5 separate regions of the Homo sapiens genome follow, and regions 1, 2, 3 and 4 are each linked to region 5. The links are contacts of gene promoters, found by promoter capture Hi-C in blood cells and fetal thymus (Javierre and others, 2016). All regions are on one chromosome and are shown on one strand. The core of a region is centred on a gene start or on the middle of the fragment in contact, and the rest is flanking DNA. Distances in the headings are between cores, read along the strand shown.

Region 1 (5,189 bases), core at 1,076-3,575, 350 kb after region 5:
GGTAGATGCTGTCCTTAACCTCATTTTACTGATGAGGAAACAGAAACCTAGAGAGGCTGTGTAACTTACCCAAGGTTACCTAGCAGGTTAGTGACAATACCACTAACTACCCTCTCACCTACTGCCTAACCCTGCCTTTCAACACCTGGGCAGCTCTTAGCAGTTTTACAGGCTTTCTTAAACCTTTGTTCATTGGCCACAGATCTGGGAAGTGAGTAGGGCAGGGAAATGTTCTCCCCTTCTACAGATGAGGAGAAAAAAGTAGAATAATGGGCAGACTGAGGGCCCAGGAGATCAAGAAATAAGAGCAGGGTGAGTCAGGCAGAGTTTGTGGAAGGCCTGGAGCTGGACCAGGTGGACAGAACGAGGCACAGTGGCTCAGTGTGGAGCCCAACAGTGGGCTAGGGAGGCTGAATGGCTGCCGCCTCTATTCTAGATGAAGGTGGGAGCTGAGTATTTACGAGAGGTTCCCAAGGCTCCAGCTGTGGTGGGGAGACACCAGCAGTGCCAGAGTCAACAGACTCTGGAAGTGGGGATGCCTGTCCTACTGGACCGTTTAAACAAGGTAAACCTGTGCAGTCTGATGTGTCTAGCTGATGGTTTGCTATCATGGCTCTTACCTGCCTTCCTTCTATTCTGTAATAAGCACTGCTGCTATCAATGGCTCTGTGCATAGAACCCTAGCACATTCCAGACTTTCCAAGGCTATGGTTCTCAAACTGAGGAGTCCCAGGGTGCTGCAGAAGTGCCTTTCTGTGTAGATAAGGAAACAGAGCCTGGAAAGGTGCTATCCAGGGCCCAGGGTCACCCAGATTGTCCAAGGCAAGGCCCAGATAGGCTGTTCCTGTGTCTCCCTGCAGGGTGTGCTGAGATTTCTCTCAGAACCTTTTCTGGCAGGTGCCTACTTTTCTTCTTTTATTTTAGGGTTGGCCTGTCCCTCTGTTGCTATGGTAACAGAACCCTTTGATCTGTCCACCCACAGCCCTGTTTATTGTCGTTTTTCTACAAACAGCACCAAGCCGTTGGTTTCTCTCAGACCCTCCTCTGTCAGACACAACAGGGTAGTTGAACAGTGTGCCCAGGGCCTGAGGTATCCTAAAGTCTCCTTCAAGGGGCTGTTTTGTCCAGGATCTCCAAACAGAAAGCCTAGGCTTGGGGGAGAGATGATGAAAGACCTTTGTGGCCCATCCCTCCCTCCCACTTACCTACTTCAGACACCCTGTGTGCTCCGGACTCTGAGCACCTGAGGATTCCAGGTATGGGCCTTGTAATATGGTACGCGTCCTAGCCTTTGCTCATGCTGTGTCCCCTTCCAGAATCTTCTCTGCCAAGTATATGACTTCAGTTTCAGCACCAGTGTTACCTCCTATGGAGAGGTGTCCCTGTGTTCACTGGCTCCGCTGGAGTCGAGAACCTGCTCTGCCTCACTTCCTCCCCCAGCATCCCAAACATTCCCCAGTCAGGACTCCCAGCAAGCAACTTCTCCAGGACAGGGCCATGTCTCAGCCAGCCTCCACACAGCCCACCCAGCAAGCACGCCACGGCCGGCATCTTCCATGGGAAGACACAGGTAGCCATGGCAGCCACAGCCTCATGGCAGCCTGCAGGCAAATCAGGGAGCAGACTAAACCTGCAGACGAATAACCGTATCACTTCAGATCACTGTCGACTCTGAAAGCAGTGAGAGGGAAATAAACAGAACCCAGGGCTTGAGAATAACAGGAAGGACCCATGGAAGCAATTCACCCTGAGAGAGCATACTCAAGGGTCCTTGGAATGCAAGTCCCCTAGAGGCCTACTGGGGGCAGCCCAGTCCCCCATCCTTATTCATTTCTGTGCCATAAATATTGATCGATTTATTTTATTTTATTTTATTTTTTTGGAGACAGAGTCTCACTCTGTCACCTAGGCTGGAGTGCAGTGGCATGATCTTGGCTCGCTGCTCAACCTCCATCTCCTGGGTTCAAGTGATTCTCATGCCTCAGCCTCCCAAGTAGCTGGGACTACAGGTGTGCACCACCATGCCTGACTAAATTTTGTATTCTTAGTAGAGATAGGCTTTCACCGTGTTGTCCAGGCTGGTCTCAAACTCCTGGCCTCAATTGATCCACCTGCCTCAGCCTCCCAAAGTGCTGGGATTATAGGTGTGAGCCACCTCGCCCAGCCATTTATATGTCATAAGTACTTCTGTAGCACTCGTCATGTGCCAGGTACTGTTCTAAATGCTTTACAAATATGAACTCATTTAATTTAATCTTTATAATAATCCTGTGAGGTAGGAGATATTTTTGCCCCCATTTTATAGATGAGGAAACTGAGACACAGAGACCTTCAGTGACTGGCCCAGGTCACTCAGCCAGTGAGTGGCAGAGCCTGGATTCCACCCCAGGTGGTCTGCTTTCAACCATGTTGCCACCCAACCCCACATACGGGTGGAAAGGGTCCCTGAGGCAGGGGATGGAGGTCCTGACTTCTGGTTTCACCGCCTCTTTCCTCTCTCAGGGGCTACACACAGTCCCTCTCAGGGCAGGCTGACTGTGTGGCTGTGGTCCTGGAGCCTGACTCCATGACGCCCCTGCCACTGCCAAGCCTCCAGCTATGGCTCAGCACCCCACAGCCTCCTCATGCCCCAAAGTGATTCCAGCCTCACTCTCACCTTTTTCACCAGCTATGCATCAGGCCCTGTGAGGGACTCCAGAGAGACAGCAGTGAATGAGATGTGGCCCTTCCTTCAAGGACCCCTTAGAGCAGTTAGGAAGACAGACAAGTCAGTGGCTAACTCACAACCCTCATGGTACAGGGTGCTGTGGAGCCCGAGGAGGGACGCCAGTCTGGCCTCATAGGGTCAAAGAAGACTTTTCAGCTGAAAGCCAAGGAGGCCTGAGCTGGTATGGGAGCACTCAGGCAGAGGCCGCTGCATTTAGAGAGCAGGCAGTGTGTCCAGTGAACCAAGTGCTGAGAGGACACAGGCAGCAAACACAACACACAGTGCTACTCCAGTGTACATTGGCACAACCACTTGGAAAACTATTTGACATGAGTCATGTCAAAGATGCACATGCCCCACAGCCCAGCTATTCCACTAGGACACATCCCTAGGGGAAGTCTCACACATATGCCCAAGGAGACCCAAGCCTGGGTGTTCACAGCAGCACTGTTTATAACAGCCAAAAACTGATAGCATCCTAAATGGCCCACAGGAACAGAATGGATACGTGCACTATGGTATTTTCAAAGAAAGGAAGGCTATACAGCTGTGGGAATGAATGAGCCACAGCCATACACATCAGTTTGGAGGCATCTCAACAACACAGCAATGAGCAAAAACAGCAAGTCACGCATGAATACCCAAAACAGGCTTTCACACGCTTCAAGTTCAAACACTGGAGAAACTGAACAGAATATTGTTTAAGGATACATACATAGGTAGCAAAACCATTTTTTAAAAAAAGAAGAAGGCAATTTTTAACACAGAATTCAAGATTGTGGTTACTTCTTGGTGGGCAGGATAGGAGGATATGATTGAGACAGGCACACAGGTCCTGTAAGGCTCTGGCAATTCTGTTCTTCAAATTGTACATATACATTATATCTCCTCTTCAGAAACTATGATGTGGGGTTTTTTTTTTTGTTGTTGTTTTTTGTTTGTTTGTCTGTTTTGTTTTGTTTTGAGACAGGATCTCACTCTGTTACCCAGACTGGAGTGCAATGGCAAGATCACGGCTCACTGCACCTCCCCTGGCTCAGGTGATCCCCCAGCCTCAGCCCCCCAAGTAGCTGGGACTACAGGCATGCGCCACCACACCCCATTAATTTTTGTATTTTTTGTAAAGACGGAGTTTCCTCATGTTGTCTAGACTGGTCTCCAATTCCTGGGCTCAAATATTCCACCTGCCCTGGCCTCCCAAAGTGCCGCGATGACAGGAATGAGCCACCATGCCCAGCAGATGTATTTAATTTTTTAAATTTTATTTATACTTACTTAATAGACTTTATTTCTTAGGGTAGTTTTAGGTTTACAGAAAAAGTTAACAGAAGTACAAAGAGTTCTCATGTACCCTCCACCCACCCCCACAATTTCCTGTTATTAATATCTTGCATTGTCTGGTACATTTTTTCAAATGATGAACCAATGTTGATACATTATTCGTCACTACAGTCCATAGTTTACATTAGGGTTCACTGTTCTACGGGCTTTGCCAAATGCATGTCATGTAGTCACCATTACAATATCATACAGAGTAGATTCACTGTTCTAAATATCCTCTGTGCTTTACTAATCCTTGACAACCACGGATCCATAGTTTTTCCTTTTCCAGAATGTCATATAGTTAGAATCACAGAGTATGTAGCCTTTTTAGACTGGCTTCTTTCATTTAGTAATATGCATTTAAGGTTCCTACATATATTTTTGTGGTTTGATAGCTCATTTCTTTTTATCAGTGAATAATATCCTATTTCCTGGTAGCTCATTTCTTTTTATCACTGAATAATGTCCTATTTCCTGGATGTACCACAGATTGTTTATTCATTCACCCACCGAAGGGCATCTTAGTTGCTTCCAAGTTTTGGCAATTATACATAAGGCTGCTACAAACTTTCATGTGTGAGTTTTTGTGTGGACATAAATTTTCAATTCATTTGGATAAATACCCAGGAGTGCAAGTTATGATTATATGGTAAGAGGATGTTTAGTTTTGTAAGAAACTACCAAACCGTCTTCCAAAGTGACTATACCGTTTTGCAAACCCACGAGCAATGAATGGGAGTTCCTGTTGCTCCACATCCTTGCCTGCATTTGGTGTCGTCAGTGTTTTGGATTTTAGCCATTCTAATAGGTGTGTGCTTGTATCTCATTGTTATAATTTGCAATTCCCCAGTGACATATGATGTTGAGCATCTTTTCATATGCTTATTTGCCATCTAGTGAGAAGACTGTTCAGAACTTTTGTGCACTTTTTAAATAGGTTGTTTTCTTATTGTTGAATTTTAAGAGGTCCTTGTATATTTTGGATGCAAGTCCTTTATTAGATATGTGTTTCATAAATATTTTCTCTCAGTTTGTCTTATTCTCTTACATTGTCTTTTTCAGAGCAGGAGTTTTAAATTTTAATGAAATCGAGCTTATTACTTTTTTCTTTCATGGATCATACTTTTGATGTATCAAAACACTCATTGCCAAACACAAA
Region 2 (5,252 bases), core at 2,366-4,865, 300 kb after region 5:
TTACATAGAAATGATCCTTTTAGAAGGTGTTTTGTGATTTTCAATTGTCCCTCGAAATAAAAATCACAGCTCCTGTCTCACCTTGGTTGAAGTGTTTTCACACTCCAGGGAGTTGCTTACCGTCACCTGAATATAGAATTCGGTGGGCATTAGTTTCAAACTGATACTACTCACAGCTGTCTTCAGGGTTTCAAAAAGGTGTCCAGGTGGCCTTGGAAGGTGTTTCTCGTTCTGGGATCAGGCTGAGCGATCCCCCTTTATTCTGGAAGCTGCAGGGCTTCAGTCTTTAGGTTTCTGCCTAAGGAAAAATGCTTCCTGGGGTTTTCTCCCAAGACTTCAGTGGAACCCAGAGTATTGTCTGTGCTGTTGCCTGATGACACAAAAGCATAACAGTGAGAGAAAAGCAGGATACCTTTAAAACCATTTCTTTTCCTAATTTCACAATAATGAAAAGACAGGAAGAAACTTATTTCTCGATCAAGAGCAACATGCCACAGTGAAGTAGCATGGACATTAAAATTAAACCTGCATTTGAATCCCAGCAGCCTCACTTACAGTGACCTTGTGTGAAGTCCATAACCTCTCTCAGTTTCAGTTTCTTGATCTGCAAAATGGGGGTCATCCCCTTATCACTTACGTTTGGCATGAAGATTCAGTGATATAGTGTGTGTCAATTTCCTCGTATGGCTGCAGAATTTTAGGTGGGCCATAAATCGGAAAGAAGAGATGACATTCCATCTCTAAATTCCTGATATATTTAGCCAAGCATTTGGAAGCCAGCAGGGCAGATGCAGGAGATAACGCTATGTTTAGCCCCCAAGGTCCCTAATGAGGGGCACTCAGCTGCCTGTGACACTAGTCAGGTCTCGCTGGCTCAAGAAGCTTAGTTTTTTGCTGCACCATAGCTTGGTTATAATTGGGACTGACGTCACCATTCAGGAAAAACTTAGAAAAACATTCTCTATTCCTAATAAGAAATACCAACAGACCTCTAGCACCCTTCTGGTCCTGAAGCCAAGCAGACTCAGCAATACCCCGTATCTTTATGGGTGGGGCACAGGGAGAGGAGTCAGGGCCGGGCCCAAAGGGCCTCACCTTTGCCGTCATCTTTCCAGCACCCCAGAAGACGTCGTCCCCATTATAGCACGGACACGTGGGTGTTTAATTAATAGTCATGGTGATCATGATGATGCTTATCTTGGCTTCAATTCACATGTGTTAGTTCCATTATTGATTTTGTTCTCCTCAAATTAACCAGATAAAGTCACAACCAATTTAAAAACAATTAGTTTGATTTTCATCTGTGGTCCAGCGGGAATCTGTTTTTCCTCCAGTATTAATAATCGCATTGTACAGTTAATGAATTGCTGTGAGATCAGTGGCGTTTGGGCTAATGTGGCATTTCTCTTTTATTCTTGTTTGATTTGTTTTGTTTTGTTTTTAGGGTCAAGTTGTATTCCGGAATGGGGAGAGAATGGGGACCATTAAATTTACTCAATTTCAAGGTAGGCATTTTGATGCTTATTCTTTCTAGCTGATAAAATTTAGATTCAGGAATGTTGTTTTATGCAATATAATACATCAAAAGGAATGCAAGTGTGATGTTCCAGATAAAAGAAAGCAGAGCCAATTGAAAACACTTTTCTGAAAACATTAGTTTCAACCTATTTGGAATATTTTTTTCTCAGCCGCATCATGATCAGCCCTCCATCTCCATGGGTTCCACGTCTGTTGATTCAGCCAGCTGAAGACTGAAACTATTCAGGAAAAAAATGGATGATTCCGTCTGTACCAAATACATACAGACTTTTTTTTCTTGTCGTTATTCCCTAAACAATAGAGTATAACAACTATTTACATTTTATTAGGCATTGTAAGAAATCTAGAGATGATTTAAAGTATATGGGAGGATGTGTGTAGTGTATAGGCAAATACTACCCCATTTTATATCAGGGACTTGGTCGTTGGGGGATTTTGGAATCCTCAAGGGATCCTGGAACCAATCCTCCATGGATCCCTAGGGATAACTGTGCTTCCCTGGCCTATTCTGCCTTCCCGCATGACTCTAAAAGGTTTATGAGATTATGAGTGGTGGGGATTAAGTTAGTATTCTGAGGACCTTTGCATTGTTGTGGGGTTTGGGGTGTTTTTTGTAGAGAAAGGGTCTCAGTATGTTGCCCTGGCTGGAGTGCAGTGGCAATCCACAGATGCGTTCATAGCATACTGCAGCCTCGAACTCCTGGGCCCAAGCAGTCCTCCCACCTCAGCCTCCTAAGTAGCTGGGACCACAGACATGCAACAGTGGCACCCACCTGTTTTTGGTTTTGATTTTAGAGATGTTCAAACAGACTCTAAAGTAGAGAGAACAGCATCATGAACCCCCATGTGCCCAATAGGCAGTTTCAATCATTATCGACATTTTGCCAATCTTCTTTCATTTTGACTCACCCCATCCCCCCTTTTTTTGCTGTAGTGTTTTAAAGCAGCTCCTAGACACGATCTCATCTCATTCTATAAATACTTCAGTATGCATTTTTTTGGATAGGGAGGTTTTATAATATAATCACGGTACTATTATCACACCTAAAACATTAAACAATTCTTAATATCGTTTAATTTCCCAGTCTGTGTGGATCCCCTGATCATCTCAACGATGTCTTCACAGATGATTTGTTGGAAAATCCACACAAATTCCACCCATTGCATCTGCTTGAAGTATCTCTTTAGTCTCTTTTCATCTATTATAACCCACCACTTTTTACAGAACATTTATTTTTTGAAGAAACCGGGTCATGCGTTGAACTTTCTGTTGCTGTCAGAAGGGCCTCAGAAACCATCCAGACCAATTTCTTTGTGTGATGAGGGAAAAACGGAGGTGCAGACAAGGGCCATGTGAGGAGCATCCTTGAGGAACAGGGCTGGGCATTCCTTGAGGCAGACCAGTACAGCCATTAGCGGGGTGATTAGCCAAAACGACTAGATGAACCTCTCATCAATACAGTGTTCTTGAGCAGCCGAGTGTTTCTGGAAAACCCAGAAACAAGAGTGGTGCCTGCTGTGCCCACTCACTTTGAGCAGATCCCAGCGCCATCCAGGGGAAAGCAAGAAATTAAAGTGAGTTATTCAGATTCATTCAGACAAATCCCACCAGGATTCAGATCAATCAGGAGAGGTGTTCTTCAGCGCTATCGCTCTGTAATGCAATCTTGTAGACATACCCATTCGTCTTTCTGTGGCAGGTAATTGAAACGCGTGTCAGCTCTCTGGCGTGCACAAAAGATGTAATTTTAGGCAAACGTAATTATTTTTCCATTTGTTAAATTTTACTTCTTCATTGGTTGAACAAAGTAAGCATCTTGGCAAAGATACTTACTTTTTTTTTTTTTGAGTGATTGCAACTAAATTCTCTTGTCTCATTTCCAGTTCTCAAAATTATATCATTCTAAGAAAGTATTTTGTAAAATAAGGATTGGCTGATCACAGCTACCAGTGCATGCCAATTGTATTGCCTTTTTTTTTTCATACGTTAGGTTTAAACACCAGCTTCAGTCACTATTTAGGCATATCTGGATTTATAAGGAAGGCAGTACAGCAAACAGCAGTTCAGAGCTTGCGCTTTGTGGGTCGACCCACCCGAGATCCAGTCACTTCCTCACTGTAGAATTTCAGGCAAGCGACTTCGCCTCTCTGAGCCTTGATTGTCCTCATCTGTAAAATAGGAGTATAATCCTAACTACCTTCATGGAATATGGGAAAAACTAAATGAGAAAGTATGTGTATATTTAACTATACATACAATATATTTATATATATGTATATATATATATATTTTTTTTTTTCTCAGCAAGTAAGTAGCAATTATGATTAGCACCTTGTCAACATTATGACACCTTTCTGGGGCAAATTCAGGTTTCCCTGAAGTGCTGAAACCCCCTGGCTGCTTTTTTGTCTGCCATTTACCCCTAATAGCGGCTCCCTGCACTTAGTGATGTATAGGAGGTGATACAAGGCAGGGCCTTAGCGATGATCTCATTCCAGAATTCATGGTATAAATGGGGAAACTGAGGTCCAGGGATGAGTAGTGTCTCCCAGGGACACACAGCTGGCTAGTGGCAGAGCAGGGACTGGACCTCAGCTTGCTCTTCTGCACATTCCCACGGACACCCAGGCACAAGTGTGCTCCCCTCACCCTCTCTGCATTTGTGTCCAGCTTTTCTTGAGGGTCACAGCTGGGCCTTCAATAAAGGCCAGATGCTCCTGTTTACATGATTTTTTTTTTTTTTTTTTTTTTTGAGACGGAGTCTCACTGTGTCACCCAGGCTGGAGTGCAGTGGCACAATCTCGGCTCACTGCAACCTCTGCCTCCTGGGTTCGAGTGATTCTTCTGCCTCAGCCTCCCGAGTAGCTGGGACTACAGGCTCGTGCCACCATGCCCAGCTAATTTTTGTATTTTTAGTAGAGATGGGGTTTCACCATATTGGCCAGGCTGGTCTCGAACTCCTGACCTCGCAGTCTGCCCACCTCGGCCTCCCAAAGTGCTGAGATTACAGGCGTGAGCCACTGCGCCTGGCCTACATGTTTTTTTAAACAGACATTGATCCTCTTGCTCCAATAGAGGGACCTTGTGTTATTTTAGGACTGAAATGAGCCACCAGAATGCAGGGGGCATATGCGTATCAACACAACAGTTGGTTTTCCAAATGTAAAGGGTTTCAGAGGTGCCTTATCTACCAGGATGGATTATTGAATAGGCCGTCCAAGCTGTGCGATGAGCCATCCAGGGAGTTAACGCCTCCAGGAGCAGCCCTGTGTCAGTGATGGATGAGAAGGGGAGGATAAATACCCCAGCATCCTTTCCCCTTGGGTGAGGCAACTCCCAGGTGTGTTTGGCTCTTTTCCCAGAGCTCCCACAGTAGGACTGAGCCTCGGTTGCCCACAAAGAAACCTGCTCACTCATGCACCTTGTCCTGGCTCCCTTCCCTGCCTCACTTCCCCACACCACTAACAGCGCATCCTAGGATCACCTTCCAAATAAACTGCATGCCTTCTTCCCCTCATCTCAGGCAGGTGCTATTCTTAGGGAGCCACCCTTGGCCGTAGGTAAGGCAGGTATTAGCATCCTGTTGGGCACACACCTCAGGCCTGAACCCCTTTCATCTCCAGATTCCATGCTCCTCCCTGATGCCATGGCTGATTTTCACGACACCACGTGTAGATGAGGATGAATACTAGAGAATTGGCTTTTTTCCCCT
Region 3 (5,576 bases), core at 2,472-4,971, 280 kb after region 5:
TGTCTGGGGGCTGTGGCCCCAGGAATCATCAGACAGAAATGAATCAGGCAGGGAAGGAAAGAAAGGTTGAAGTAGACATCAAAGAGGCCTTGAACATGTCCTGTCCCACATGGACCTCAGTTTTCTGGGCCTAGAGGACATGATGTCCCAGTCTTCTTTCTCCTCAATGCCCCAAGCTTGAGGGAATAGTATGTAACTTAATCTTGAATATGTAGAAAAAAACATATAGGATATTGCCTAACATAAGGTAGAGGCTAGCTTGAAAAAGTCTTGAGGTTCAAGGCCTTAGTGTACAGTTAATTACTTTCATGATTCATCACCTGCAGACTGTGACTCTAGTATATCCTTAGTGTAAATGTATGAAGGCAGTAATTTTGTACATGTGTATGTATGTGTACATGTCTTTACATACATGTATATACTTACAGACCCATGGCATATAATAAAACAGTGACCTAGATTCTCTCTCAAGCATGCAGGATCTTTATAAGCCATACGTAGTGACAGTTTAATCCACATAATCACTGTCAATTCCCCTTCACTAATTTGGCAGAGTCCCTGCGGCATATGCAGCTCTGCAATGCTTTACACAGCGTACACAAAATTCCCTGTTCATCCTCCAATCTAGTAATTCCATCAACTAGCTTATGAAGAGCTGCTTCAGTAATTCATGTTTAATGACCTTAGCTGCTGGACAGATGTCTTGAGAATTAAAGTCTCCTGTGAACAGAGTATCCTGAGCTTCTAAACTCCAGTGTAATGGAAACACGTCCCATTTCTCCCACACACCCCCAAAGTGATGGGATTTGGAGCAGACATCCAGCCTGGGGTCCTCTCCTCGGGCTCACACTGCCCACTCTAGCCTTTATGAGTGGTGGTGACCAGACTGGAGGCCATGGGATTTATCTGACATGTCCTGGGTTGGACAGTCAGTGGGCCTCACGTGGGGCTGAGTTCTGTGCCTCAATTCATCTGTAGGATAGAGGAGATGGTGCCTGGCATGGTCAAAGAGACCCTCAGAGTGCTCAGGACTCGGGACTCCAAAATAATGGAAAAGAAAAGGTTTATGATGAGAACCAACATTTACTAAGCTCCTGAAGTACTAAATTTCCTCGGAACAAGCCCTGTGAGGGAGACACGATTAGGACCATCTTATAGAAGAGGAAACTGAAGATCAATGGGTTGTGTAGCTTGTCAAATTCATGCAGGTGGGAAATGCCAGGATCCTGGTTTGTGTGCTGGGGTCAGCCACCTCTAATGCTCTGTTTGTTTTATACCCCTCTTCCACCTTCCCACCCACCTCAGTGGGATTTTTAGAACCAAAGTTTGCACTGTCATGCCAGCCGTGTTTCTACAGAGAGATATATACAGCGATCATCTTCAACTCCTCCCTTCCATCTGCCAAGCCCTGCTGACTCCACCCCCGTGAAATCCCAACCACCACCCCTTTTTCTCTGTCCCCTCTGCCGCTCATTCATTCTGGCTCATTCTCACACTCACCATATTAGCCTTCCTAAATAATCTCTGGCCATGGTACTCCTTATTAAAAACCTTCCTTGAGCCGGGTGCAGTGACTCACGCCTATAATCCTAGCACTTTGGGAGGCCAAGGCAGTGGATCACTTTGAGATCAGGAGTTCAAAACTAGCCTGGCCAACATGGTGAAACCCTGTCTCTACTAAAAATACAAAAATTAGCTGGGCGTGGTAGCACATGCCTGTAGTCCCAGCTACTTGGGAGGCTGAGGCACAAGAATCACTTGAACCCAGGAGGCAGAGGTTGCAGTGAGCCGAGATCACACCACTACACACCAGCCTGGGCAGCAGAACGAGACTCCATCTCAAAAAATAGTGATAATAAAATAAAAATAGTGATAATAAAATAAATACAAAATTAGCTGGGCATGGTGGCAGGTGCCTGTAATCCCAGCTACTTGGGAGGCTGAGGCAGGAGAATTGCTTGAACCTGGGAGGTGGAGGTTGCAGTGAGATGAGATTGCACCACTGCATTTCAGCCTGGGTGATAGAGTGAGACTCTATCAAAAAAACAAAACAAAACAAAACAAAAAAAAACAGACAAAACCTTCCATGGCTCCCCACTGCCTGTAGGATATAGCCTGGCATTTTAGGAACTCCACCACCAGGCCATACTTGTGTTTCCAGCTATTTCTCTGAATTCTGCTCTTACCCAGGAGGCATACTAGCTACTCTCCCACACATGCATCAGAATTTCCAAACTTCATAACTGTGCTTATGTGGGTTTTTTTTTCTATCACCTTTTCCATCATTTATTTATTCAACGAATAATTTTTGAGAACTTACTATGTGCCAAGTACTGCCCTAGGAGCTAGGAATACAGCTGTGAACAAAACCAAAATGAATCCCTTTCTTCAGAGAGTTTACAGTCTAGTGCCAGGAGCAAACAATCAGTTCTTGCCATATTAAATGAGAAAAGTATACAGGTTGTCAGAAGACAATGGTTGCTATTCCAAAAGAAAGAAAGAAAGATGTGTAGGAGGATGAGGAGGATTGGAAATGCTACCAGTGGATGGCGAGAAGAGAGTTTTAAACAGGCTGGCCAGAGAAGGCCACATTGGGAAGGTAACATTTGAGAAAAGCATTGAAGGAGGTGAGGGAATGAGTTGTGCAAGCGAGTAGGTAAGAGTGAGCCAAGCAGATAAGCAGCCAGCCAAAGTCCAGGTGAGAGTATCTGGAGTTCTGGAGTTGGGGGCTTCCACTTCCCACTTCCAACCAAGATGGAGGAGTAATAGGGACCAGATTTACCCTCCTGCTGTAAACAAGTTAAAGAAAAAAAAAAAACAGTCCAAATACTATGTGAAATGACAGTTTTCAGACATGGGCTACAAGCAGCAGAGGACAGTGACCCCTGAGAGGAGGAGCACAAAGGAAGTGAATCTTACAATCGCCCAGATGACCATCTGGAGGGTTTCCAGCACAGGAAGGGGGAACCCAAACAGAGCCTGGCAGTCTTGCTGAGTTGCAGAGACAGAGATGAGAATTCAGAGACAAAGGAGGCAGAAGTTTGCAGGCAGAGCACTGGAGAAGAGAGAGCTGCATGGAGAGGGAGAACTATGCAGGTCTGCTCACACCCTCAGCTGAGTACTTACTGGCACATGTACAGAGGAAAGCACTTGAGACCAGGGAAAGAACCAGCAGAAAGGAAAAGACAGGCAGAAGGATCCTCAGAGCTCAGGCAGGCCTGGGAATAGTTCATGTTCCCACCACGTTGGGTGGGAAAAAGTTTAATAAATCACAAGGAGAATACTCAGAAGGGGGTCATCTCAGGAGTGGGGTGAAATGAACCCTAGACTAAAGGCAGCTCTGGTCCCACCTAAAAAAGCTTAAAAGCAAGACTCGAAAGGGTCAAACTCCTTCCAAGTAACTTAATTATGTCCCAGACAGAACTTAAGAATATTTCAAGGAACTTTTTTTTTTTTTTTTTTTTTTGAGACGGAGTCTCGCTCTGTCGCCAGGCTGGAGTACAGTGGCATGATCTTGGCTCACTGCAATCTCCACCTCCCGGGTTCAAGCGATTCCCCTGCCTCAGCCTCCTAAGTAGCTGGGACTACAGATGTGCACCACCAAGCCCGGCTAATTTTTTTATTTTTATTTTAGTAGAGACAGGGTTTCACCATGTTGGCCAGGATGGTGTTGATCTCCTGACCTTGTGATCCACCCGCCTCGGCCTCCCAAAGGGCTGGGATTACAGGCATGAGCCACCACGCCCAGCCTCAAGGAGTATTTTTAAAAGCTAACACCCAATGAAGGGTCTGACATCCAGTGAAAAATTACCAGGCAGGCAAAGAAGTTGGAGTGTGTGGGCATGACAAGGAAGCCAGTGTGGCTGGAATGGTATCAGCAAGGGGGAGGGAAGTTGGAGACAATGTCAGAGAAATCTAGATTGCATCATCCCAGTAAGCTACTTAAAAGGACTGTGGCCAACTCAGAAGTCAAGAGAAGACATCTGTTTTCTCGCCTCCCCTTCCAGACTGAAAAGCTCCCCTGCTTTGTTCTGAAGTCCCTGGGAAGACACTGAGTGAATGGCTTGTCCTCAACAAGCTTTGGTCCTGTCTTCCTGTAATCCACTGCCTGCAAGATGTGTGACCTTGGAAAATCTTCCTAACCACCATGCCTTGTTTGCTTGTTTGACTAAAATTAATCATAGTGTATCGCCTACTTCTAAGGAGAGTTTGAAGCAGTTCTCAATAAAAGGCATGTACGTAGCGAGGTCACTGACATAGAAGTCAGAAATCTAAAACCATAAAATGTGATGACAAAAATATATACCAAAATCCGGCCAGGCGTGGTGGCTCATGCCTGTAATCCCAGCACTTTGGGAGGCTGAGGTGGGCGGATCACTTGAGGTCAGGAGTCCAAGACCAGCCTGGCCAGCATGGTGAAACCCGGTCCTCTACTAAAAATACAACAATTGGCTGGGCATGGTGGTGCATGCCTGTGATCCCAGCTACTCAAGAGGCTAATGCAGGAGGATCGCTTGAACTCGGGAGGTGGAGGTTGCAGTGAGCCGAGATTGCACCACTGCACTCCAGCCTGGGCAGCGGAGCAACACTTTGTCTCAAACACACACACACACACACACACACACACACACACCAAAAACCTGGGTGAGTTTTTAATTTAATCATGAAATAAAATGAACTGGTTGCCATGTGATAAAGCGAAATGAACCTCAGTCTCTTCCTCTGTAAAATGAAATCAATGGTCTTTGCCAACCTACCCAGAAAGCTGCCTCAAGGATCACCAAAGATGTGGATGAGAATGTATCATTCAGGACTCTTTTGGTGCAAGTGATAGGAAACTGTACTTAAGCAAAGGAGCAGTAAAGTCTAGGATGAGGTTTCTCCAGCTCTCCATCTCTGGGTCTGCTTTCTCCTGGGCCAGGTCCATTCTAGGCCTATGCACAGTTGCTTCTGCTTTTCATCATGTCAGCACCAAGTCCAGCAAAAAAGGGAACCCATTTTCCTTATAGCACCAGCAAAATCCCTGCTAGTCCCGTTAGTTTTGATTGGCTGGCTGACTTGGGTCATGTGCCCATTTCTGAACCAATCACATAGCTAGAATAGTCTGTATTGATTGGCTTAGTTCCAGTCATGTGATCCATCCCTGCATAGAGCCATCTTCACAGAACTTCAAGGCTGAGCATGGGGCCAAGTGGGTCTCTCTGTGTTGTCTCTCTACTTTTCTTCTTCCTTACACGCATTTTCTCCCCTGCTCTGGTGCTCTAGGAGGCTGATCCCATGATGACATCCCCTGTCTTCTGGTTTCTGGTTCAATATAGGCAAGAGATTGGAGTCCAGGAGGAAGGAGATTGGTCAGGTGCAGCCTTTGCCTTCCTCCCTGCTTTGGAGCTGCGTCTCCTGAAATACCTGTGCCCCTCCATGGCTGTGGCTTCTCCTTCTTGTCTCCCACTTTGTTGAATCTCCAGTGACACTATTTCCTCCTTCCGTTCTGAGGTATGGTAGCAACTCCTGCCATTGCTGGTCCATGGGCACATCACCTTCCCTTGTCTACTCCCTCAATCTGCCCCCTACCCTGC
Region 4 (5,118 bases), core at 982-3,481, 370 kb after region 5:
TTCTGATTTTTTTCTTCTCTTGCAAGATTGTTTTAGCTATGCAGGGTCCCTTGAGATTCCATATGATTTATACGATCAGTTTTTTCATGTCTGTAAAAAAGGCTGTTGGGATTTTCATAAGCGTTGATTTGAGTTTGTAGATAATATGGGGAGTATTGCCATCTTAAGAATATTGTCTTCCAATTCATGAACATGGGCTATCTTTTCATTTATTTAGGTCTTCTTTAATTTCTTTCAGCAATTTTTTTTTCTTCCGAGATGGAGTCTCACTCTGTCACCCAGGCGGGAGTGCATTGGTGCAATCTTGGCTCACTGCAACCTCCGCCTCCCGGGTTCAAGCGATTCTCGTGCCTCGGCCTCCTGAGTAGCTGAGGTTACAGGCACCCACCACCATGCCTGGCTAATTTTTGTATTTTTAGTAGAGACAGGGTTTCACTATGTTGTCCAGGCTGGTCTTCAACTCCTGACCTCAGGTAATCCACCTGTCTTGGCCTCCCAAAGTGCTGGGATTACAGGTGTGAGCCACTGAACCCAGCCTTCTTGGTGGATTCTTTAGAATTTTCTACCCATAAGATTATATAATTTGCAAATAGAGAGTTTTGCTCCTTTCATTCCAATTTGTATGCTTCATATTCCATTTTCCTGAATAGCCAAAAAATTCTCGGATAGACTTTCAACCTACTTATATCTTTGAATCAAAAGTGAGTCACATATACAGCAAATATAGTCAGATCATGTTTTTTTTAATTCATTCTGCCAATCTCTGCATTTCAATTGGAGTGTTTAATCCATTTTATGTAATTACTGGAAAGGCAGGATTTACATCTGCCATTCTGGAAGATACTTTTTTGTTTTTGAGACAGAGTCTCCCTCTGTCGCTCAGGCTGGAGTCAGTGGCGTGATCTTGGCTCACTGCAACCTCTGCCTCCTGGGTTCAAGCGATTCTCCTGCCTCAGCCTCCCGAGTAGCTGGGACTACAGGCACATGCCACCATGCCTGGCTAATTTTTGTATTTTTTAGTAGAGACGGGGTTTCACCATATTGGCCAGGCTGGTCTCAAACTCCTGACTTTGTGATCCACCCGCCTTGGCCTCCCAAAGTGCTGGGATTATAGGCATGAGCCACTGCGCCCAGCCAGATATCTTTTTTAAACGCACGACGTATCTTACTATTTTGCACTTAAAATTCTCCAATTTAAAATAAAACCCACACTTCTTACCTTGCTACAGGTCCTACACAATCCAGTCCCACTCCATATCTGACTTCATCTAGTTCCTCTCCCTGTGCTCACCCCAGTCTTTAGCCATGTGGGCCTTCTGTCTGGAGCTCTAACACTCCAACTTTATTCCCAACTTTGTGCCTTTGCATTCATGATTCTTCTGCCTGGAACGCTCTTCCTCCAAACCTTTTCAGACTCTTTCCTGTCATTCAGATCTAGCTTAAATGCCACCTCCCTGATCACCAGATCCTTAAATGTCCCCCAACATTCTTTCTCACCTCCCCTGTTTCTCCATCACATTGCTTATTCCTCGTTCTCTCATCTATATTCTATCATCCACTAGAATGTGAGCCCCATGAAACAGGGCCCTTAACTATCTTACTCAGAGCTCTTTCTCCATGGCCTTGCACAGGGCCAGACAGACACACAGCTCAATATATGTTGGTTGAATGGATGAGTGAATGAATGAACAAAGGAATGCGTGCATGAATGAATGGATGATGGACAAGCTTCCCTGGCATGATTCTTGTCAGCACTGACAACAGCTGAGTAGGTAATGTGGTTGCTCAGTAGCTGGATTGAACTATTGGATGAATATGTTGATACTAAAAAGAAAAATAAGTAATGTTTTAAAGGTGAAGAGGAAGTTTGGTTGTTGTTGTTGTTGTTGTTGTTGAATGATTTCAAAGAGAAACTTGACTCGTGGTTCTCAATCCTGCTACATCACCCAGAAAAGATCTTTTTGAAAATACCGGCCCGGGTCACACCCCCCAAAATATCTGATTTAACTGGCTTAGAAAGGGCCCTGTGCATCAGGAATTTTTTAAAGTTGCCATGGGTTCTGGTGTGCAGCCGGAGTTGAGATTCTCTGGTCCAGACTCTCACGAATCTCTAGGAAGGGCCCAAGACTGTACCTTGGATACCAGGGTGATAAATAGACTCAGGACAATAAATTTTTACGACTAGAAAGTAAAAGAAGAAAAGGCTGAATCCAGAAAATCTGAAGTCCAGTTGGTCCCTGCCAGCCAGAGATGATGATGATGACAAAAGAATTACAGACTCAGAGAGAGGCCCACCTGGGGAGTTCATGTGTGCAGACCCCAAAGAGCTACGCAGGCCCTCTGGTCTCATATTTTTCTGAAAATCTTTGTGTTAGCATTTGAACAATTGTTTCTCCAGTGGAAGAGAGAGAGCAAGGAAGAGGAAAAAAGGGAGGTTTCTATGAGGTTTCTATTTCTGCAGCATTGTTCATTGCAATGGGAAGACAGAGGGTGAGCAAGTTCCACACCAGAACTTTAGGCAGGTTTGTTTCTAAGTGCTCTACAATCACAAGGAAACCACTGACCACAGAAACCAACAGGGAAGAAAAAAGGACAAGGGAACCACAGTGTCCAGGCACCTCAGCACTCATGGTGGCTCGGAAAGGAACCGCCAGCCCTGTGGTGGGATGTTCATTCTTTTCTGCCCTTGTTTAGCTTGAAGTTTCTCCCTAAAGCGATAGTGGATTAAGCTTCAAATACTGAGTTGTTTTGTCCTTGACAAAGGATGAAACATTTAACATGCCCCAAAGATGCTCTGTTCATGTCAGAGGAGGCTGAGACAACCTGTGAACCACCCCTTAGGGGACAGCAGCCAGAAGAAACACGATCATTGCTGGTCCTGCCCAAATCTCACTTCCCAGCCCACCCACCCATACTCTTGCCCTTCTCTGGACTGGTACCCCAACTCCAGGCTTACCCTACTCACATGCAAGCACCCAATAGTAAGCAAACACGTACTATAATAATGACAACAGTGTCTCACATTTCAACAGCATGGCAAAGTTCACAAAGCACCTTGACATCCCCATTTTAGAGATTCATCAGAGGAAACTAAAGCTGAGTAGGTGACCTGACTGGCCTGAGATAACCTTGCTTGCTACGCATGAGAACTGGAACCCAGCCCAAGCCTTGTGGTATTGGATGAGTCAGTATCCCTTCCACTGGGATTGATCCATTCACACTTCCTGCTTCTTTTTGCATCCGTCCCTTTGTTTTCTTTTTCTTCATTGATGCTTTCAAAATTATTAGCTTCCAATTGTGCATAATGTTCTCTTACAAATGCTTAAATCTCTTTCACATCTGTGATTATCTGGTTGATGGTTCATGAGAGTGAACAGATATTCAAATCCAGCAAGTTTAGATCTGAGAGCTTCACCTTCCAGTCCCGCTTCATCCTTAGTACTAGATCTACTCAGCCTTCTTCTAGGATTTCAACAAAGCTGCATTGTCTTAGGAGTAACAATAGCAAAAATAATCATAGCAACAGCTTTTCTTGAGTGCATGCTATGTGGTAAGCACTGTTCCAAGTTCTTTGCTTTATCAACTCATTCAGTCTTCACAACAACCCCATGTGGGAATTACCATTATTATCCCCAGTCTACAGATGAGGAAACTGAGGCACAGAGGGGTTAAATAACATGCCCATGGTCACACAGCTGGTAAATATACAACATGTAGCCCTTAGTGGTTAAGCAAGTAGACTCTGGAGCTAGGCTTAACTCCAAATCCCAGTTCAGCCACTTACTGTGTGAAGTTAGGTTAGTGTACTGGGCTGAATTGTCATTCCCCCTAAACGATATATGCATCCTTACCCCTGGACCTGTGAAATGTGGCCTTATTTGCTAAAGGGGTCTTTGCAGATGTCATTATGTTAAGGGTCTTCAGAAGAAATCATTTTGGATTACCCGGATGGGCCCTAAACTCGATGACAGGTGTCCTTATAAAAAATACACATAGAGGGACACAGACACAGGGGAGAAGGCCATGCGGAGATGGAGGCAGAATGATGCAGCCACAGCATGGAATGCCTGGGGCCACCGGGAGCTGGAGAAGACATGGCAGGATTCTTCTCTTGAGCCTTCAGAAGGAGCACAGCCCAACGGACATCTTGACTTTGGACTTCTGGCCTCCAGAACTGTGCAAGGATTAATTGTCTATTGTTTTAAGCCGCCCAATTTATGGTAGTTTGTTACAACAGCTCTAGAAAATGAGTATCATTTCTGAGGGCTTCAGCCTTAAAATGGGCCTAGATAGGAGAAGTGCCCACTTTACTGAGCTTTGGGGAGGACTAGAAGGGATGCCTGTAAGATTTGCCCACACCCAGCACCTGGAGAGCACTTGATGAAGGTTAGCCCTCATACAGAGCATCATTTATTACCCGGCCTTTGGCTGCTCTGCCCTGAACCCTTGCAGAGCCCACGGAAGCCAGCCCTTCACATTGCCATCTTCTTGTGTCTGACTCGTTGCCACTGGGACCCCTGAGCCCAGCCCAGCGTGTTCCTGGCTCAGGAATCTCAGAGGAATCAAATCTGACTCCCAGACCCAGGCTGCAGAGGCCTCTCTGAGCCATTATTACCAGGGCTGCCAGAGCGAGACTATGAACATCCACATGTGGCGTTTTAATATTTTACCCAAGAAGTCATTTTCTTCCACGATTCAGACACAGAAGACTCGAAGAATTAAAGTGAGAAAGGTACTCAGGGCCTGCATGATTTCCGCCAATGGGCGTGGAGGATTTTCCTGTGTCTGTTCAGGCTCTTTCTTTCTTATCTGCGTCTTACAGCAGACGGGAAGCCAGCTGACGAGAGATTGCATGTTCATACCAATTATTAAAAATATATGGCAGGCTTCTGGAAATGCATTCACATGCCAAGGAAATAGAATGCAGTCACCAGCCCAGGCCCCTGCACTGTGTGCTTTGGAGGAACAGTGCGGCATCTGTAAACACAATGATACAAGGTTTTGGACCAGATTCTGCCACCTCCCAGCTGCGTGACCTTGGGTGAGTGACTTAACCTCTCTGAGCCCCAGTGCCCATAGGGGAAGTTCATTCCTCCCTCACAGGTTTACTGTGAGCGT
Region 5 (5,829 bases), core at 1,424-3,923:
AGTCTCAATCCTCTTTCCTGCTTTTTTGTTCACCATAGCACTTTTCATAAATGGGCATACTAACATATCTTCTTCTTCCTATTTATTGTTTCTCTTTCTCCACTAGAATGTCAATTCTACAAGGGCAGGGATTTTGTTCTGGTTTTTTCCTTCCTATATCATCAGCTCCTAGGACAGTGCCTAGCAGGTAGCATGCCCTTCAAAACACTGGTCAAAGGAATGAATGATTATTATAAAGCAAGACGCTGGACCCCAGCTCTGGAGGAACATGCATTCTAGGCTGGTGACTGAGGCAGGAACTCAGACTCAGGAAGCACATCAGGGATGCAGTTACCCAAACTGTAATACCAGGCCAGAGTAAGATCTTGGAACCAGAGGGATGCCCAGGCATTAGGAGTGGGCTGTGAGATCAGAGATTGGCCTGGAGCCATGCTGATGGAGAGTGAGATTGGTGCCCCCTGGGTCAGGGCAGATCCCAGGTCATGCGTCTTGGGGCCAGGTCACCCCACCATAAAAGAAGACAGAGGGGCTGTAGGGCAGGATGCCAGGTAGGGCCTTCAACCCCTTAGTAAATGTCAGGCAAAGTTACCCAGCTTTCAACTTATTCCCAGATGTAGGTGTCAGTGGACACTCTATATTGGCACAGCTTGCAAGGAGGACACAAATGACTAAAGGAAAGAATTAGAAAAAAGAAAAAAACCAAGTGAAAATGTTCATTCAGAAACCTGAGCTAAGGGTTTGAGGAATGGCAGGTGCCAGAAGACTATGACTGGAGGATATTTGTGATGTCAAGTGAGACAGCAGTTGAGCGAGTATCTGGGGATTACACTGTCCTTTGGACCATTTCTTTCCCTCCCTCCCTTCCTTCCTCCCTTCCTGGAGGAGATGCTCAGGTGAGTTCTGTTCATGCAAACCCTCCAGCTTGGGGAAAAGGAAATGCCAAGTGGAGCCGGGAGAGGTGGAGTCTATAGAAGCCTGGAAAGAGAAGTTAGGGCAGAGAGAATTTGGCCTGGTTTCCCTGGCGCTGTCCAAGGTACTCTCTAGTAGTTCTGCTCAGCCTCCACTCACATCTTTGTGCTTCCTAACAACTCAGCCTGGATTCAGAGCTGCCCTTGCCTCACTCCAGTAGAGCTGGTGTGTGGCCATCATCATCATCATCCGGTCCAAATCCCTCACCATATGCCGGAGGGAATCGATGTCCAGAGCAACTGAGTCAGGGCAGTGCTCCTCCTGGAGAGGAAACTTGCAGTCCCACATCCCTGGCTCCCACTGCACTGTGCACGGAGTTCCTGCTGGCTCTGGGTTCCGGTCCTTCAGTAGCTCTGTGTGCTTCCACTAGCTACAGAACCTCTCTGAGCACCAGTGTATTCGCCTGTAAAGTAAGGGTGAGTAACACAGTATGCTTACAGGGCAGTTGTGGGGATTACATCATAAGGCACACAGTAAGTACTCAGCGAAGGTCAAACTTCCATTCTTGTTACAAGGTCGTCGATATCTTCCACAGTCCCTGGTTCAGGCTCAAGTATGTTTTGTGATTTGATGTCCTACTGTGTTCCTCGCATTAATCAGCCCCTGGGACTTTATAGATTAATGATCACGTTTCCTATTCTTGAAGTATGCAGAGGCACAAGGAACCCAAGGTCTTAGGTCAGCTCACTCGGGTACATCTGGCTCGGGACTGCTTTGGCTAAGATTGGCCAGTGCGACCTGGCAGAGAGAGGGCCAAGTCCAGGGGCGCGCGGCCCCGCCCTGGCCTGAGGATAGTGCTCCCACCCCGGGAGACTTCTAGGGCGGGGCCCATCAAGAATGGGGACGCGGGGAGGTCAAATGCCTGGAGGGGGCGGTAGCGCACGTAAGGTTGGGACCCCAGCTTTGCTTGGGGTTGGCAAAGGGCGGTCGCTCCGTCTGGTGGGGAGGAAAGGGGTGTCCTCAGCCAAGGCCCTAAAGGCCGGGCAGCCTGGCACCAACGGGCGTTCGAGCACCCGTGGGCGTCTTCAGCGACCCCCGGGACTCGGTCAGGGGCTCGTGGGCGCCAGAAAAGAACGGGAGAGCGTAGGCTGCAGATGCCTCTGGGACGCCTTCGTGGAACATTCTCCTGCCCAGACCTTCCCGGCCAGACCTCCGAGAAGCGGTTCCAAACCACCGTGCAGGTGCTACAGGCAGCGCTCGGCGGAGCGGCGGCGGCCACTGCGTGTGCCAGCGCGCGGTCCCGGTTCCCAGATCGCTGTCCCCGGGCGCTCTGGTGCCTGGAGGTCAGCGGTCGGCGGGCAGCGGCAGCTGGCGCAGCGGAGGGCCGGGGGCGCGTGTGTGCGTGTGCTGGGAAGGTGGCCCTCCCCGCGGCCGCCGCAGCGCCAGCGCCTCCCCCTCCCCCGGCGCGCACGGCTCGTCCCCGTCCCTGGAGGCGGCCCGAGCCGCCCCTGAGCAGCCTCGCCTTCGCCTCCCGCGTTTCCTGCCGTCCGCCCTCCCCCGGCCGAGCTCCAGGGGCTGCCGCCTAGCAGCTCCCGGCGGGAGAGCGGTTCAGAGCGCGCACGGGGGCGGGCGGAGGCGGCCCGGTGCGGGGCGGCCGCGCTGGAGAGAGGCGCGCGCGGAGACGCCGGCCCCCCTCTCCGCGTTTGCTCGCTTGCTCCCCGCCTCCCGCACTCCGCTCGCTCCCACCCCTTCCCGGCGTGATTGATCCGTCACGGGCGCCGCCGCTGCCGCCGCCGCCGCCGCGGCCGTTCTGAGCCGAGCCGGAACCCTAGCCCGAGACGGAGCCGGGGCCCGGGCCGGCGCCATTGCGCGGGCGCCGCGGGAAGACCTTGGCGCGGGGCGGCGGGCCGGGCCAGGCCATGCGGGCCGAGTGAGCCGGCGCCCGCAGCCCGCGGCGCGGCATGGCTTCCCCGCGGAGCTCCGGGCAGCCCGGGCCGCCGCCGCCGCCGCCACCGCCGCCCGCGCGCCTGCTACTGCTACTGCTGCTGCCGCTGCTGCTGCCTCTGGCGCCCGGGGCCTGGGGCTGGGCGCGGGGCGCCCCCCGGCCGCCGCCCAGCAGCCCGCCGCTCTCCATCATGGGCCTCATGCCGCTCACCAAGGAGGTGGCCAAGGGCAGCATCGGGCGCGGTGTGCTCCCCGCCGTGGAACTGGCCATCGAGCAGATCCGCAACGAGTCACTCCTGCGCCCCTACTTCCTCGACCTGCGGCTCTATGACACGGAGGTGAGTGTCCGGCTGCCCCTGCCGTCGGGGCTTCGGGGGGCATTGGGGTGGGTGGTTTGGACACAGGCAACCTCCGGCCTTTGGTCAGATCCCCGATTGACCGGCCCGCGCCTGCCGAGGGCAGAGAGGGCTGGTGCCCAGTGTTCACCCCCGCGGTCCTGCTGGGCTTGGCTGGCACAGCTGGTAACATTTGCCAAGCACCCCCTCCTCTGGTCTTATGTGTGTATGTGTGTGTGGGGAGGGGTGGGGGTGGGATAGAAGACTGGGGTCTCTTTTGACCAGAGAAAAAGGAGTGGAGAAGGTGGGGGCTGGACCCCCAAAGGCCTACATTGATTGTCCCTGTCCAGGTCCCGCTCATGGGGCTGCGAGGTACCGAGTGGGAGGAACAGGCGCATTGACTGCAAACTGGGCCACCCAGGGCCGGAGGGGCCGCGGGCCTGCTCACAGGCCCCCAGGGAAGCCGAGCCGCGCTTTGAGGTCCGGAAGGCTCCGGAACCCAAGGGGCTTGAGCGTGCAGCGTGGCTGGGCGCCTGGTGCGCGCCAGCAGCTCTGAGCCCGCTCCGCGCGGGCAAGTGTGGGGCCACCGGCTCTGCAGCGCTTCTGCCTGGACGTGCCCGGCGCTGCCTGTGGCCAGAGCGATTTCAGGAGACCCCTGCCTCGGGTTAGTTGCTCAGAAAGTGCCCTGGCAGTTCTCGTCCCGGACGTGCAGTGGTGTCCGGCCGCGCCGCTGCTGTTGGCCGGGCGGCTGCAGGCAGTTTCTCACGGCTCAGGCTTGAAGCATCCGACCTAGCAGCCGGAGCACAGACTTGGAGAGCAGTCCGGAGCGGAGCCAGAGAGCCAAGGGCTTTCCATCCCAAGACCCCTCCCCACGCCCTCGGTTTGGGTTCTGCCTGAAGCCCCAGAGCGGACCTTCACCGCCAGGCCGGGGCTGGAGCGCGCGGAGCGGGTCTGGAGGAGCGATCGCTGGCCGCGCAAGGTCGGGTTTGCGAGTTTTTCCGGACCGAGCGAGCCCCTGTGCTCCGACCGCAGCGTCTGAGACGCGGCCTGAAGGGGGCAGTGATTTCCTGTGCAGTACGCTCGGTTGGCGCCTCTTCCATCGCGCGGAACGGGGCCGAGGCGCTGGGCTTGATCCTGGCTTCCTGGGACTCTCCGGGCGCTTCTGCTGGAGTCCAGGTGCAGAACCCTTTTGGGAGGAGGGTCGCGCTACTGCTCTGGTGGTGCAATCTGGGCTTCCCCTCCTCCTTGGTCGGACCCTCTTTATGTCCCCAGAGAAAGAGCAGAATCTAGATTGTATCTTATTCCCTGCCTCCCCCGCTTCACCGGTGAACCAGCTTGCTCTGCGCTGTAAATAAAAGGTGAAGGAACCGGTGGCAGTTGGCAGCGGTACGCGCAGGCTGCTGCAGGCGGAGAGGCGTCCTCTGCCCCAGAGGATGCAAGCTGGCTGGCTGTGCAGGGCTAACCCGGTGTGAAATCATTTCCGAATGACATTCCTATCGCCCTCGTCTTTGCCTGAGCATCTCAAGTTCTGTGGGGGTACTTGTCTGGCACACATAAATGGAGACAGCAATGCAGTTACACGGAGGCATATCTTCTTGACAGTTTCTCTGTTGCTACTGCACATATTCTTCTGGAGGGGTCACTGCAAAGCCGGTCTTTTGGGGACAAACACATTTTTAGATAGGGCAGCCCTGCTTGCATCATCACCAAGTATTGTCAGCTGCATAATGTTTTCATCATCAGTTTCTTCCCTTTAGAAAGCTTCCCTGAAAGAGATTTCATACTGGCCTGTTTGTGGCAGCAAAGAGATGGGTGCTTCGTTTCAGGGTGTGGGTTGAAGCCTTTACATTTTATTTTTCGAGTGTGTCTTGATGACTTTCTGAGTGAAAGGACCCAAAGTCAAGAGGATGAGACAGTCAGAAGACTCTTCAATTCGTGGGAATATTTAGAAAACAGTGGGAAGGAAGACAGAAGATAATTTTAGCTTCGTGCAAACAGAGAAGTGTCTCTAGCCTTTTGAAGGGGCCCAGAGCCAGGGCTTTGGGGTAGGTGGGGCCTGGGTTTTAGTGAGAAACTGGTTACTTTCCACCCTGGATGACCTTGAGCTGGGTATTTAATCTCTCTAAGCCTAGGTGGGAATATTATGTGTACTCTGCAGGTGACACACAGCTTAAGGAAGATAACAGGCCAGGGTAGAAGATGCCCTGAGCTGGCAGGCTCAGCGGCCAGTGCTCTGGCATGCTGTAAGCACTAAATAAATGTGTCCTGCTGCCTCCCCTCCTCCTCCTCCTTCTTTTTTTTTTTTTTTTTGTTTTTTTTGTTTTGTTTTGTTTTTGTTTTTTTGAGATAGAGTTTTGCTCTTGTTGCCCAGGCTGGAGTGCATTGGCGTGATCTTGGCTCACCGCAACCTCCACCTCCCAGGGTCAAGTGATTCTCCTGCCTCAGCCTCCCGTGTAGCTGGGATTACAGGCATGTGCCACCATGCCCAGCTAATTTTGTATTTTTAGTAGAGATGGGGTTTCTCCATGTTGGTCGGGCTGGTCTTGAACTCCCGACCTCAGGTGATCTGCCCACCTCTGCCTCCCAAAGTGCTGGGATTACAGGCATGAGCCACCGTGCCCAGCTCCCTTCCTTCATTTTT

The links. Contacts are between HindIII fragments. The CHiCAGO score rates a contact against its expected background, and 5 or more counts as called.
Region 1: a contact is called between a fragment that was not itself captured here and the fragment with the promoter of GABBR2 in region 5, in 1 of 17 cell types (M1 macrophages). The highest score is 5.2, in M1 macrophages.
Region 2: a contact is called between a fragment that was not itself captured here and the fragment with the promoter of GABBR2 in region 5, in 6 of 17 cell types (M2 macrophages, endothelial precursors, M1 macrophages and 3 more). The highest score is 8.2, in M2 macrophages.
Region 3: a contact is called between a fragment that was not itself captured here and the fragment with the promoter of GABBR2 in region 5, in 1 of 17 cell types (M1 macrophages). The highest score is 5.2, in M1 macrophages.
Region 4: a fragment that was not itself captured here is called in contact with the fragment with the promoter of GABBR2 in region 5 in 6 of 17 cell types (M2 macrophages, M1 macrophages, endothelial precursors and 3 more); the score reaches 12.1 in M2 macrophages.

What each region holds. Positions count from the first base shown.
Region 1 is chr9:98,356,123-98,361,311 of GRCh38, reverse strand. All of the region lies in intron 13 of GABBR2 (gamma-aminobutyric acid type B receptor subunit 2), which reads left to right. Among named protein-coding and RNA genes, the nearest start is that of TBC1D2, 100 kb to the right of the region's middle. RefSeq lists an enhancer at 1,021-1,521. The HindIII fragment of the contact is 8,075 bases long and covers 1-5,189 here.
Region 2 is chr9:98,402,334-98,407,585 of GRCh38, reverse strand. It overlaps GABBR2 (gamma-aminobutyric acid type B receptor subunit 2), which reads left to right. Exons shown (of 19, transcript NM_005458.8): 8 at 1,445-1,505. Among named protein-coding and RNA genes, the nearest start is that of TBC1D2, 150 kb to the right of the region's middle. The HindIII fragment of the contact is 5,462 bases long and covers 885-5,252 here.
Region 3 is chr9:98,428,179-98,433,754 of GRCh38, reverse strand. The region is part of intron 7 of GABBR2 (gamma-aminobutyric acid type B receptor subunit 2); the gene reads left to right. Among named protein-coding and RNA genes, the nearest start is that of TBC1D2, 180 kb to the right of the region's middle. The HindIII fragment of the contact is 719 bases long and covers 3,362-4,080 here.
Region 4 is chr9:98,332,442-98,337,559 of GRCh38, reverse strand. The region is part of intron 13 of GABBR2 (gamma-aminobutyric acid type B receptor subunit 2); the gene reads left to right. Among named protein-coding and RNA genes, the nearest start is that of TBC1D2, 79 kb to the right of the region's middle. RefSeq lists a cis regulatory region at 4,805-4,822 and an enhancer at 4,742-4,886. The HindIII fragment of the contact is 1,001 bases long and covers 1,731-2,731 here.
Region 5 is chr9:98,705,779-98,711,607 of GRCh38, reverse strand. GABBR2 (gamma-aminobutyric acid type B receptor subunit 2) reads left to right here and starts at 2,673. Exons shown (of 19, transcript NM_005458.8): 1 at 2,673-3,191. The coding sequence starts at 2,871. RefSeq lists enhancers at 1,287-1,581, 3,334-3,904, 4,476-5,047. The HindIII fragment of the contact is 8,458 bases long and covers 1-4,951 here.